Regions from separate parts of the Homo sapiens genome. Here regions 2 and 3 are each linked to region 1. Evidence: promoter capture Hi-C in 16 types of primary human blood cells and fetal thymus (Javierre and others, 2016). All regions are on one chromosome and are shown on one strand. The core of a region is centred on a gene start or on the middle of the fragment in contact, and the rest is flanking DNA. Distances in the headings are between cores, read along the strand shown. Region 1 holds the start of CCDC174 (coiled-coil domain containing 174). Region 2 holds the start of RAB5A (RAB5A, member RAS oncogene family). Region 3 overlaps SETD5 (SET domain containing 5).

Region 1 (4,453 bases), core at 690-3,189:
CAAAAACACATGGAATTTAGTATGTGTTTCAGTAAAATGGGTAAATACAGAATCTGAACAAGACAAGTCTATAAGGTATAATCCTTCTTGTGGGGACAGAACATTCCACTCCATTAAGAAAAGAGAATCACAACATTATTAGGCCCGATTATCTCATATTGCTTACTGTTCTAATTTCAGAGACTGGCGGACTTGGAGAAATAAACAAATGAAAATAAATAAATAAGACTGAACACAGTCAACTGCCTCAATTCCCCTCTCCTTTTCCCTTTTCCCATTTTCTCCATAAAGACAGATGAGATGAGGATGTGATGAGTCTCATTTTTCTTCTCTCTAATATGGTGGATAATAGGTCCGCTTCTAGGATTCTTGCAAGGATTATATAATATAATCTATGCAAAGAGTCATACACATGCCCCACATATACTAAATGCCACTGTTACAATCATTATGATCACTTTCGTCTTGCTGCTGTAACAAATTGCCACAAGTTTGGTGGCTTAAAACAACACAAACGTATTCTGGTAGAGTTCTGGAAGTCAGAAGTTTGAGATGAGTGTTACAAGACTAAAATCACCGTGTCAGCAATGCTGCATTCCTTCTGGAGACTCTGGAGGAGGGCTCATTTCTTTGCTTTTTCTAGCGGCCTCCTGCATACCTAGGCATGTGGTCCCACTCTCCCTCTTCAAAGCATCTCTGATCTCTGTCTGACTCTGGCCATCCTGTCTACCCCTTATAAGGATGGTTTTGATGATAGGGGACCCACCTGCACAATCCAGGCTAGCTCCCCATCTCAATCGCTTTAATTTCATCATCTCTGCCAATTCTCTTTTGCTATATAAAGGTCACCATATACCCAGATTCTGGGGATTAGAAGGTAGACATCTGGGAGTCGGGGTGAGGGTGATTGGTCTGTCTACCATAATCATTAACATTTTTATCAAGACTAGCTCATTTAACTCATCTAATCCTCACTAAGACCCATTAGGTAAATAAAATTATATCCCCCTTTGGAAACTGAGGCACACGGAAGTTAAGTAACTTGCCCAAGGTCACACAAGCAGTAAGCCGTGAAGAGCGATTCCAACCCAGAAAGTCAGCTTTCGAGTTCACGTGTTCTTTGTTTTTTTTTTTTTTGATCTCGACTCACTGCAACCTCCACCTCCCAGGTTCAAGCGATTCTTCTGCCTCAGCCTCCTGAGTAGCTGGGAATACAGGCGCGCACCACCACGCTCGGCTAATTTTTTTTTTTTCTTGTATTTTCAGCAGAGACGGGGTTTCACCATGTTGGTCAGGCTGGTCTCAAACTCCTGACCTCCTGATCCACCCGCCTCAGCCTCCCAAAGTGCTGGGATTACAGGCGTGAGCCACCGCGCCCGGCCCAGGAGTTCACGTTCTTAAGAGCTGAAATATGTAAAGTGGCCCATAATAAGCACTACATTAATGTTAGCTATTATTCTTGTTATTTCTACTAAGATTAATATAATAATCCTTATCTCGTACGCTCTTTTAAGAACCAACTATTTAACGTGTGAAAAGTGCCAGGCAGCAGGTCCTGGAATTGCAGTTAAGATTCTTCCGGTCCTCCCAATCCACCTTTCCCGAGACGCTCGAGTTCACTTACTTAAGCGTCAGCCTTCCCCAAGATGGCGTTATCTTTGTCGCCAACCCCACATCCGCCCCACCCAATATGGCGTCCATCGCAATCAAAAGCTTTATTCCGCCCTTCTCAAGATGGCGCCCACACCAATCCTTGTTACCTTCCGCCCTCAAGATGACCTTAGCAGTTAGCGTCAACCTCCGCACTCTATGACCTTTCCAAAATGATGGTGAACGTAATACGCACCACACTCTGACCTTCTCAAGATGGCGCTGAGCTGACAAACTCGCGTCGCAAACTCACGCAAACTCAGTGTCGCTGTCGAAGACACTTCCGGTTGCGACGGAGGTAGGCTTACGAGGCCTGTGTCGGGTAGAAAGGGTCCTTCCTGGACCGGGACCCTCTGCCACGACCATGGACCGTAGGAAAAAGCCTTTGGACGTCACGGCCTCCTCGGTGAGTGAGGGTATGAGGTAACTCCACGGGCTCCGGGTTCACCGTGTCTCCATCAGACAAGAATGTCGACCTAGCTTGTTTCTTCACTCGGGGACCCAGAGACCTGACCTCTCCCCTCAAACAGGAACCCCCGAACTGGATTTTCTTCTCCGGCGGGGATCCGGTTCAGTTTTCTTACAGGACCCTGAATTGGGCTACTCTCCTCTGACATGCGCCCGGGCCAGAACCCTCGGACACGGATCTGAACCTGGTGTCCCGTGGGTTAGGAAACTCCGTGCCTCACCTCTGCCCTGCCCACAAGGACCTGCACCTCGTCAGCCTTCTCCCTTACAGTCAGGAGGAACCCTAGCTTCTTTTTGCTATGCAGACATATCCTCTTCCTGGTTTCTCCTCCATCCAGGGACCCACAAAGTCCTCCCAGAACTTTAGAGTGTGACATATTTCGCAGGACCCGAAAGTGTCCAGCGTGCCCTCCCTGGAACTAAACAGTTGTTAATGCAGGCATAGGGAGTTGTGAGGTCTGAAAGGATGTAAGCAGATTTATTACATCAGCTACTCTAGAAAGAAAACTTGTTCTAAGTACACATTTTGTGCCAGCACTTTATATGCACTATCTCATTGAATCCTCCCAATGGCTTTAGGAGGTAGGTGCTATTAATATCTCCGTTTTATGGATGATGAAATTGAGGCCTGGAAAGATGAAGTAGCTTTCCCCAGCTTACAGACAGAAATCTTAGTGATAGCCGGGCGCGGTGACTCACGCCTGTAATCCCAACACTTTGGGAGGCTGAGGCGGGCAGATCACCTGAGGTCGGGAGTTTGAGACCAGTCTGACCAACATGGAGAAACCCCGTCTCTACTAAAAATAAAAAAATTAGCCGGGCGTGGTGGTGCACGCCTGTAATCCCAGCTACTCGGGAAGCTGAGGCAGGAGAATCGCTTGAACCGGGGAGGCGGAGGTTGCGGTGAGCCGAGATCGCGCAATTGCACTCCAACCTGGGCAACAAGAGCGAAACTCCGTCTAAGGGGCGGGGGGCGGGGGGAAGAAATCTTAGTGATAGACCCTTTCTCACTCACTCTACTTGACTCCAAAGCTGCTGCCTTTTCATCATCAGAGCAAATTGCCCAACCTTTGATTTAATCTTGAATTTACTTCAGAGTATTAGGACACAAAGTGAGTAGGAAGGAAAACATATAGGTGTCCCAATATTTGAGTACTAGTTATTATTGGTAACTATTATTGGTTAAAATTGGTACCAGTTATTATTTTGTTTGAAGATCAGGAACCAGAAAGCTATAAATATTAAAGCCAACCTATACTGACAGGTTAGCAGTAATTGTAATAAGAATGCTATTTGAGAATTTACATTTTTTTGAGCATCTCTTAAAGTTAAAGGCAGTTGTAGACTAGGAAGATATGTGGCTGGAAAATTTGGTGTGGTTAAGTAAGCTTAGAAGAAAAAGTAGAAGTTTTTCATTTGTTTTTAAAAATTTCCAGTATTAGGGTCTGCAGTGAAACTGCCCTTTGCATTATTAAATGGTTACCTTTTAAATCGATTTCTTCCAAAACGGAAATTGAACCCAGCCATTTTTATCTTCCTTAACAAATAAAGTGATTTTTTTAAGTATCTGATGATTAAGACAGTGATGAAGTATCTGATTTACAAATGCCCATCCATATAAGCAGCTGTACCTGGACCATTAAAAAGGAAACTGTTGTTATATCCTTTTTTGCAGAGTAGGCAGGGGTAATTAATGTAGCTGAGGGAAAGGTACTAATATTCACCCAACTGCCCCACTCCCTATGCCTTGGCCTTCTTTCCTGTTCTTGAACCGTGTGATTCAGCCAAGCTTACGGTTTTTGAAATGGATTAAGTCAAACGTGGAGCTGTTATAATTCACCCAGTCTATTTTATTTCTAGCTGTTGAAATAATGTGTCTTTAAAGGCTCTGCTCTAAGCTTTCTCTGATCACTCTGCTCAGAAGGAAATGCTCTGTTATCTGAACTTATGTGCTACTTTCTTCCACTCTAGAGTCATTTGTTTTATTTTGTTGGTAGTATAAATTACTTTCCTTGTTACATTGTAGGCTCTTTGAGGCAGAGAGTATGTCTAATTCATGTTTATGTTCTGCTCTTCAGCGTTATTTCTACAGCATTTCACTGTAGAAATAAGTTGTGATGATGAAATGAGTGCAGTGCTAGTCAGAGAGAAGGTGCTTAATAATGCAAGTTTAATCTGAAACTAAAAGATGCAGACTTTATTAATTTATTTTGCTTTATCACTTTCTCCTTGCCTAAGGAAAGCCTCGAGTGTTGAAAGTCAGAGTAAAAATGCATTTGCAGCAGAGGTAGAATGAAACATGACTTAGCTTAATTTGTGTACTGGATTCTACATT
Region 2 (4,453 bases), core at 1,344-3,843, 5.3 Mb after region 1:
TAGGCATATTGCAAGTGGCAATAAAACAACAGAGCTTTACTGTGTCATTTCAATTTCTCTAAAACTACTACCGGATCTTTAGAAATGCCAGCCACCAGGGCAGCACTCTTCCAGGCAAACATTATGACTAAACTGTAAAATATTGTGAAAAGTATTCATGAAGGAGGTGAAGACAAAATCACTAAACAGGAACGAGTGAAGAAGCAACATACTGGAACGATGAAATAGGGAGTTTTTTGCAATTTATAAATTTCAGCATCAAATGTTTTTCATTGTGAGGTCTTCTTAATGTTCGTGATTCTAAATGTAATTAAGTTCACCAATACTTTGGGGGTCCCTATTATAGCAGTCAAGGGTCTTCTGTGAAGAACTGAAATGATGAATAACTGATGGTCACAGCCCTTAAAAACCTTATAATTCAATGAAAGGCTAAGGAGAAAAGTCCAGGTGCTCATTAGCTATTAAAATAAGGCAGATTTTAAGACAGCCATTATACAGAGTAAGGCAAAGTATTGTGAAATTACAGAAAAAATAATAATTGAATCCAGTAGAAGTATCTGCAGATGCGGTCCAAAGGAACTGGTGTCCTGGCTAAGACGGAGCCAGCAGTTATGGGCAATGATAGTGTTCCATGTGGAGAAAATAAAGTGATCAGATACCAAGATGGCAACACACAGGCAATATTCAGGGAACACAGACCAGATACGTGTGATCAGGGAACAAATAAAGAGTATGGGGAGAGGAATTCTATAGAAATAGAATGAAAGAAACTTGGGTTGGGACTAGAGTTAAAGAACTTTAGACTGTCAAGTAATGACATAGCATTGAACATTTTTTAGTAGAGTGGCTAAAATGTAAAGAATGGACAGAAAGAACAGCAGTATGCATTAATTTCAGTTTATATAAACACTACCATGGACCAGGTGTTGGGATTAGACTTCAAATTTGGGGATTAGATAATTTGTTGATAGAATGGACAATGGTTTGTGAGGAGAAGAAAGAGGTGAAGCTGATTCTGCAGTTCCAAGTCTGGGTGACTGGGAGGATGTTAATGCCAGTCTCTAAGCAGAAGCAGGTTTGGAGTGGAATAGGTTTCGTTTTGGGCATACTGTTGACATGACAAAACTGATGTCACATATCCTATTTCCTGACTCCTCCTGGGATTGTCCCAGAGCTATTACCATGATTAATAGTTCATATTGAACAACTCCTTGAGAATAAAATGCCACAGGTATCATTTACGTATGACACATTACGTTCTTCTGGCAACTAGGTAGTTGATCTGAAAGACGGGCTGTTCAAAGTTCAAATCATCTTAATTGCACAATGCCGCCGACTGTACGCCCATAAGATACCTTAACCCGGTACACTTCAAAGACAATATTCTCGCCCTTACAACAGAGCTATACATTGTAAACTGCAAACTGAAAAGTAGCCTTTATTCTGAAGGAAAATCAATTTAATATTCTTCCACTAAATTATCAAAACAATTTTTTTGGCGGAGGCTGGGGAGGGGGTGGTGGCTGAAGCCTCGCCAGAGACTGAATGTGGTGTGGGATTCAACTAAAGCAGCACATCTTCAGTAGGTCCCCCGTGGAGGGTAACGAACATCTTGGGTTGTCTTTCACCAGAATTGTGTTCAACAACTCACGTTCTGGAGCCAACCCGCCGCAGATCAGAATCCAGCTTCTGCACCACACAGCCGTGATCTCGGACAAGTTACTCAATCTCTTGTGTCTCAAATTCTTTACCTATAAAACATCTACAACTAGAACTGAAGACTTGGCTGCCAGGCACTGGGCTAGACATAGATTTACAGCGGTGAGGACCACCAAGGGGAGCTAAAATTCGAATGTAGGGAACAGACGATTAACAAGTTAGTTTCAGAATGAAAGACTCGAGTGTAAGAATTCAATGGGATAATTCCTGTAAAGCGTTTAGTACAGTAAAGAGCGAAGGGAAATTCTGAATAAAAGGCAGACACTATTTTAGGATTTGGCCTTCCCCGCCCCCTACCAAAACCACGTAAACTCTTAACAGAAGCGACTTCTTATTGTCAGGCGCCTAAAGGCGGCTTTTGGGATAGGGAGGGTCCTTTCTTCCTCCTTGGGGTAAATGCGATTTAGCAGCCTTTACCGACCTACCCAACCCCAGGGCCATTTTGTGGGAGGAGGTTCTCTCGTGCTAGACAAGTTCCCTCTAATAAAGCCCCTTAGCCGAGATGCCAGGATTGGGGTTAGGGAACCTCGCCGCTCCCACAAGGGCTGGGCACAAAAAACAAACAAAAAAACACAAGTTATTTTGATCTTCCCCCAAAGAATAGTAAAGGAATTTCCCCCGACCCCGGCCGCCAGGAGCCCAGAGACCCCCCAGCCTAAATAACAATGGCGCTGGAGAGGGCGTGGCCGCGCGTACCTGGGGTGGGGGAAGGGGAGAAAGGCGGCCAGTTCGGATCTGAGCCACTCGCAGGGTCACGTGACATCCTGCCTCGCCCCGCCCCGCGAACAAACCTAGGCGGGGAGGGATTCGGGAAGGGGCGAGGAAGCGGAAGGAGCAGGCGGACTGGCGATGATGGGAAGTGACGAAGTGGCGCAGTTCGCTGCGTGCAGCGACGTGGCGGCGGGGCCGGCACCGGGCAGCGGAAGTGGCTCCGGCGGTGGGACTTGAGTGTTTGTGTTTTGGTTCGTGAAGGAGCCGGCGGCTGGCCTTAGGGGAGGAGGCAGAGGGAGGAGGAGGAGGAAGAATTAGTCGGAACTCCAGCGCCGGCGGCGGCGGCGGCGGCGGAGGAGGAGAAAGGAAAGAGGAAGGGGGAGCGGCGAGAGGCGGAGACGGAGCCCGACAGGGGCGGCACCACGGCACGAGCCCCGCACAGTCCAGTGTGAGGGGAGCGGCGCTAAGAGCAGGCGACGCCGCCGCCGCCACCACCACCGCCATAGATACACTCTCATCCTACGGGCCACGCCTGGGCCTTGCTGCCAGGAAGCTTCGGCCCCGCAGCTCGGCTTGCTGCGGTCTCAGGTAACCGAACCGCCCCTCCTCCTGCGCAGCGGGGGCCTGGACCCCAGGTTATCCGCGGTCCCCAGCCTGTCCGCGGCCCTGCCGGTACTGAGACCCCCCACCCCTTCTCCCTCACGCGCAGCAGTGCCCTGGACCAGAGAACTATCGAACCCGGCGTCTTGTTCTGCCAGCCCTGGTGACTCATCCTCCAGGGGCTCTGGAGACCGGGATTTGGGGACTGACTGAGGGAGCGACGGGTGTCACCCTTTCCCTTCTCAAGATGGCGCCGTGGAAAGTGTACTGGAGGCCGCGGTTCCGCCTGGTCTCCGTCCTGGCAGTCCTGGGGGTCTCGGTCAAAGCAAGGCAGGTTCGGGGGAGGAGGTTGGAAAGGCCAAGGGACCTGGCGAGTGCTGCTTATCCAGGCGATCTGTAGTTGGCTATTAGCTACTCAGGTGCTCTCCAAGCAGGAACCTGGGCCTACTGCAGGTGTCAATGTGGGGAGCTCCGCCTATCTTCAACTTCCAAAGATGAGTAGTGTCGGTGGGTGGGAGGCTCGTCAAAATAGGCTGTCTAGAGACTTGTTTTCTGTTTGGAAGGTAGTGAACTACAGCGTTAAATAAATTCAAGATAACAGGACCGCTGAACTCCTTCACTGGGTAGAGACCATGGAACTTGCTCTGGCGTTATCTTCCCTGGAAGCTGCTTACCTCTGAGACTTTCAAACTTGTTAAGTTCTGAACGTCATAGTTCACATACTTGGTTTTTGTCTTGCTTAAATGGAATCAAAGCGTTCAATCAGTTGCCTTTCACATAATAAGAAAAAAACACTTGTACACCTCTGGGAATACTCAAGACTGCTCATAAACTTTATTCCTAAAGTAAAATGGAAGTGATAACTCAGCATTTGTATAAACAAAGTAAATGGAACAGTGCCTGGCACAAAATAAGTGCCCAGTCAATTTTTTGATCAAAGAACCCTTAGAAGGATTTTAACTATAGAATGAATAACAGTTATTTTCAAAAGATTACAAATGTATATTATGCAAAATTCTTGTTTTGCAAAACAGAAGTTTCAGTAAGCAGTGAATACAAATGAATGCACGTAATTTTTAACCTTAGTGTTATGCTAAGTGTATATTTACCATTAACTTTAGTTATTTCCTGTTTGAGATCCTTAGGGGGAGTAGCCACAATTAAGTAGCTTTAAACCTTAAAAGTCAAAGTGAAATCAGAATCTTGTTTGATTTTTTTTTTTAATGGGAGTCTGATATTTTCCCTAAAATTTTGGAAGTGCCGTAGAAATTTGGAGCATATTGTCCTTGATAAGTAATTTCTTGTTTTCTTAAATAAAAAGACAAATGGAAAATGTTTTGATTGTGTGTAATATCTGAAGATGTATTGGTGCATTTTCAGTATATATGATGTTCTATTGATATTTTATCATTTTCTTATCAAA
Region 3 (4,453 bases), core at 1,118-3,617, 5.3 Mb before region 1:
CGTGGCGCCGCGTTGGGCCTAACTCGAGTCCTGCCGCCTCCCGGGAGTGCCGTGCGCCGCAGCCCGGGCCCAGGCCCCGGCAGCGCCTGGGACAAGGTAAGGGTCCGACAGAAAAGAGACCGAACCTCACGATCGGGCCCCAGGGGAGGGAAGGGTCACCTCCTCCGTCTCCCCGCGCTCGCTCTCCTTGGGTCGTGGGCCTGGCCCTCCCCAAGCTCTTAGGAGGATGCTGCCACTTCTCACCCCCCTCGCCGCCTTGCACACACCGTTGCAACACCCCATTTTCCCAGGGAGAGAGATCCCCCTCTAATCTAGGCGACCCAACTCCCCCTTTCATGTTTTTCCTGGGTCAGGACGCTTCCCCTCCCCCAACGCCTCTTCACCCCCTTTCCTGGGAACTGCCTACTCCACGTTTACCTTTCCCTTGAGGAGAGGCCTCTTGCTGCCCTCCGCTCGAAATACACAGGCATACTTTTTTTCTCTCCCCGATCCCCCACTCCCTACCCCCGTTCTCGCGGCCTTGTGACAGACAACTCTGATCGCTCTGGGGGCCGCGATCTCCCCTCCGTAATCTTCCTGGACGCCTTCCCTCTCGTTTTCTGGCTTCCCACCTCAGATGGCTGCTTCCCAAAGGCATTACCTTCGCCACCCCCACCACACGTTCTCTGGCTCCCCGTGGCGTGTGCCACAGCGTGTCTGAGATAGCCTCGTTGAATGTGTAGGGTTCGAGCCTGGAGTTGAGCCAGATTGTGTCGTTTTACTTGCCTTGGGCGTGGAGAACGATCTTGTGAGAATATCTTCAAAGGCAGAAAAATATTCCCTTTATGAATTCTCTTTCCCTCTGCGTGTAAGTCGGGAATGTGAAGAGGAGTGTAGGAAAGAGCCCTGGTTCAAGTAGGTAAATCGCATGAGAGGGAAAGTTAAACTGTTGGGAAAGCCCCTTCTATGCTAATTGATTCTATAGAGTCCTTGCTTGTCTCACTTCTTGGGCGTCAGTGGTCTTTCTCTTGGATATGGATGCTGCAGTCAGCTCTGCTGGTCTGGGTCAGGGGTGCGTGTATGACCTGCATTTTCTGCTTTCTCATGTTACTTGTGCAATGTATTCACCGGTAACTCATTTCTTTCCCAGACCTCTGGGTTCCACTGGGCTTTGTCTATATTTAAGTTCATTTCTCCAGTTTCCTTCCTGCACATAGGTACTGAACGAATCCCCAAGTTCTGTGCTAATTACCTTCATCAGTTGACTAAACAAGTTTTTAGATGACATATTTGTGACCAAGGTCATATTTACATTTCTTTGTTGGACAGATGTTACATAGCTATACTTGTGATTGGGGAGGATCCAGCTGAGTGGAGTGTGCTGAGCTTTTTAGGAGAGTGTGTACTCCCTATTTGAAATTATTTTTTGGTTGTTAATTTTATATTATTAATGTTTTTAGGTCACAGAAAGTTCTAAGTGGTAATTTTAGATGTGTGGGATCTGAGCTAGGACTAAAGCAGAGAATACCCACGTAATCAGAGGTTTCTGGGCTCCATAGAGGACGTAGGGCTTTTTTTTTTCTATTGGATTTCTTCCAGTTTTCTCAGGATCATTAGTTCTCTTCTGTAGCCAAAAATTCTGGCCTGTTATGGGATTAGAGTCTTTAAGGTTTACTCAGACTGTCATTATGTGTAGAAAAATGAATTATGCCCTTTGGTAGGACATGACACAAGGCTCTGTTTCTAGCTGCAAATTTAAATTAGATTGTAGAGTGCTTGGGAAATTGGCTTTCAAAAGACCAAAGCTTAATCTTCACTCCTAAACTGCTGGCTTAATTAAAATGGATATTTAGAATTTGGTAAATGTTGATTTTTCTAATAAAAGGCCTTGGTTTAAAAGGGTGACCTTAGGATTGTTTCTTTCTTAAAAGCATAATTCCAGCCCTTCTGGCATGGAGCACTGGTCCAAAAAAAAAAAAAAAAAGTGTGTGTAAGGAGTGGGGGTGGGGTAAAGAGAAGGTTGTTCCTTTGGGTTGGATCACAGGGGTGAGTATACAAGGCAGCAGCAGCTGCTGGCTCTGGAGCTCTGGTTGCTACGTGAGAAGCTTGAGTAGTGCTGGCTGCTGTCTCCAGGGAAGGACAGCAGTGCAGCGTCCATTAATGCTGCTGGCTGCAGGGAGCAGCACTTAGGCGATGGCTGCTTCAGGACTAAGAAGAAACCTTGCTTTTCTGGGAATTTTCACTGCTGAGCTGGTTTGCTTTTTATTGGTGGGGAGATGGGAATTAGTAATTCATAATCTCCTACCCATTTATGGATATTGGCATCTGGAAACTGGATCATGGTTAAAGCCTTTCTTTTTTTGTTTGTTTGATTTGATTTTTGTTTTTTGGCAGATTTTTGTTTTTTATCTAGACATTTGTGCTTGGATAGGACTAAAAGTTCCATTAGAGTTTTAATTTTTCAATCAGTTTAAAAACCCAAGTAATAATTTTAAGAATCTTTCTGATAACCACAATAGGAAGAAAATAACAGGAATTTTTTCCTGCAGCTCACATATCATGCCTTCCTCCATCTCTTTAATCATAGAATCAATTCTTATTATTTTGTTATGTGTCTCCATCCTTTCGATTAGACCACATTTACCTTATAGACGATTTGCTAAACATTTTACTAAGCTTGAACTCTTAAACTCTAAAAAGGTGCCATTTTGGAGTGGTTTCTAAATAAATATTTTTAATTTGTATATTAGTAATAAACTTCTCCAGATTAGATATTTTCTTTGGAGTTTGACTTATAAGATTGATTCATTATATACATGTTGGATATAGCCTTCTGACATCACAAATATATGTCTTTGGCCATAATCCATCTGAAATGTAGGACAGACCAGAAGAAATATGCAGAAATCGAATAAGTCTAGTTCAGGATACTGAGAAGATGGCCTCTGAGCCCCTTAGGTGATCTCCCCTCCCCCACAACTCCTGAACATTAGGATGATCTCTGATTAAGCAAAACAGTCTGAGCGTGGAAAAACTTGAAGGAGAACCACCACCACCAATTATATGCAATACTGGACATATTCCTGTGTGCTGTTTTTCTTCCCCAAGACTCGTGTATCCTATACTTTTTTCTCTCAGAATTTTGATTTGTTCATTTTCGTGTAAATGTACTTAAATCTCACAAACATCTATAATTTGTAGTATCACTCTGGCATTTGTGGCAGAGAACCAAAAAGAATGGAAATGAGTTTTGTCATTCACAAATGTGGCTCACATTGTTTTCCCAGTAATAAAAGCAGACCAATGAAACAGAACCTTTAATGGATACTATTTTAGGAGGTTCCAATTCTTATTACTATCACATAGATAAGATGCAATAGCAGATAAATATGATTTCATGTATACTGGCTGTTTGACATACTTAGGGTTTAAGATAAAAATGTTTGTAGTTTTTTACTCTGTGGCTTAAGTTGCTATATAAAATAATTGCTTTTACACTCGAATTTCCTGTTGTTTGGAACCTTTTGTGCTCTTGATATTATCATTTTTTAGAGGATCATACAGGCCCTTTTCATAGAAGGATTTACTTAAGTTATACCCTTGAAAACTTTTTTATATCTTTTGATACTGTTTTGTGTCCAGGAACTGACTTTCTGAAATTATTCTGGCTTTTCTGGGGAGAATGACTATTTCATTTTTACCTTTGAATGGGGAAATAATAAAGTGCAAAGTACAGATTTGCAGATAATTACTTTTGCTTTATCCTCTCCATGTTGAAATAACTTATGAAAAATTAGGCCATAGTTAACAGCAGTCAATGACTATTGGATACATTTTATCAGAGGGGAACTGGATCATGAATAAAATAAAATTTTAAAAATAATTTTTGGCTGAACTCTGGTGATTCATCAGTTTAATTTGAAGTCAGAAGGTCTAGCAGTGAATTTTATTTATAAAAATTGTATTTCAAGTGTTGAAAACTGAAACTTCTTGACCAGTATATTTTGTTTGAGGCATCAAACTTTGCAAAATGTGCATCGTATATTTAGTGATATAACTGGTAGTCATTTGTAATTTAAAGTATTCTTTCAAAGGCACTCTTTAGAAAGTAATGTAGTGTACCCGTGATGGGCAGGGATTGGTACCATTCCTTACTGCCAAAAATTCCAAAATATGTGGCAAAATGATTGATTTATCTTGTGGGTGGGATTCTGGGAAGTTCATGAAAGGTGGAGAGAATATAGTTTCCTTCACTTGTCTATATACATTTTGTTAAATAAGTCTTAGGAAAACTGTTTTATTGTATCTTTAATTATGAATTGCGTAAAAGATACCCAGTAACTTTGGGGGGAGGTGCTGTTAGAAAGCATTACATTGGAGAGAATTCCCCTACCCTGGGACAAAATGCATTCTGTCTTTAATACTTAGCGAAGGGAACTATGGGATAAAATAAACAATGAAGGTAAGCTCAGTC

What was found. Contacts are between HindIII fragments. The CHiCAGO score rates a contact against its expected background, and 5 or more counts as called.
Region 2: the fragment with the promoter of RAB5A here is called in contact with the fragment with the promoter of CCDC174 in region 1 in 1 of 17 cell types (fetal thymus); the score reaches 6.2 in fetal thymus.
Region 3: a contact is called between a fragment that was not itself captured here and the fragment with the promoter of CCDC174 in region 1, in 1 of 17 cell types (monocytes). The highest score is 5.2, in monocytes.

Annotation. Positions count from the first base shown.
Region 1 is chr3:14,649,823-14,654,275 of GRCh38, forward strand. It overlaps CCDC174 (coiled-coil domain containing 174), which reads left to right and starts at 1,940. Exons shown (of 11, transcript NM_016474.5): 1 at 1,940-2,056. The coding sequence starts at 2,015. It overlaps LOC124909347 (a long non-coding RNA gene), which reads right to left and starts at 2,299. Exons shown (of 2, transcript XR_007095826.1): 1 at 1,847-2,299; 2 at 1-1,404. RefSeq lists enhancers at 1,481-2,139, 1,643-2,042, 2,183-2,252. The HindIII fragment of the contact is 1,793 bases long and covers 1,712-3,504 here.
Region 2 is chr3:19,944,504-19,948,956 of GRCh38, forward strand. RAB5A (RAB5A, member RAS oncogene family) reads left to right here and starts at 2,594. Exons shown (of 6, transcript NM_004162.5): 1 at 2,594-3,018. It also overlaps a transcript of EFHB not described here. RefSeq lists enhancers at 1,475-2,076, 2,487-2,656, 2,582-2,751, 2,613-2,662, 3,183-3,232 and 1 more. The HindIII fragment of the contact is 3,439 bases long and covers 1-2,981 here.
Region 3 is chr3:9,397,882-9,402,334 of GRCh38, forward strand. It overlaps SETD5 (SET domain containing 5), which reads left to right. Exons shown (of 23, transcript NM_001080517.3): 1 at 1-96. Among named protein-coding and RNA genes, the nearest start is that of SETD5, 2.5 kb to the left of the region's middle. RefSeq lists an enhancer at 552-601. The HindIII fragment of the contact is 571 bases long and covers 2,083-2,653 here.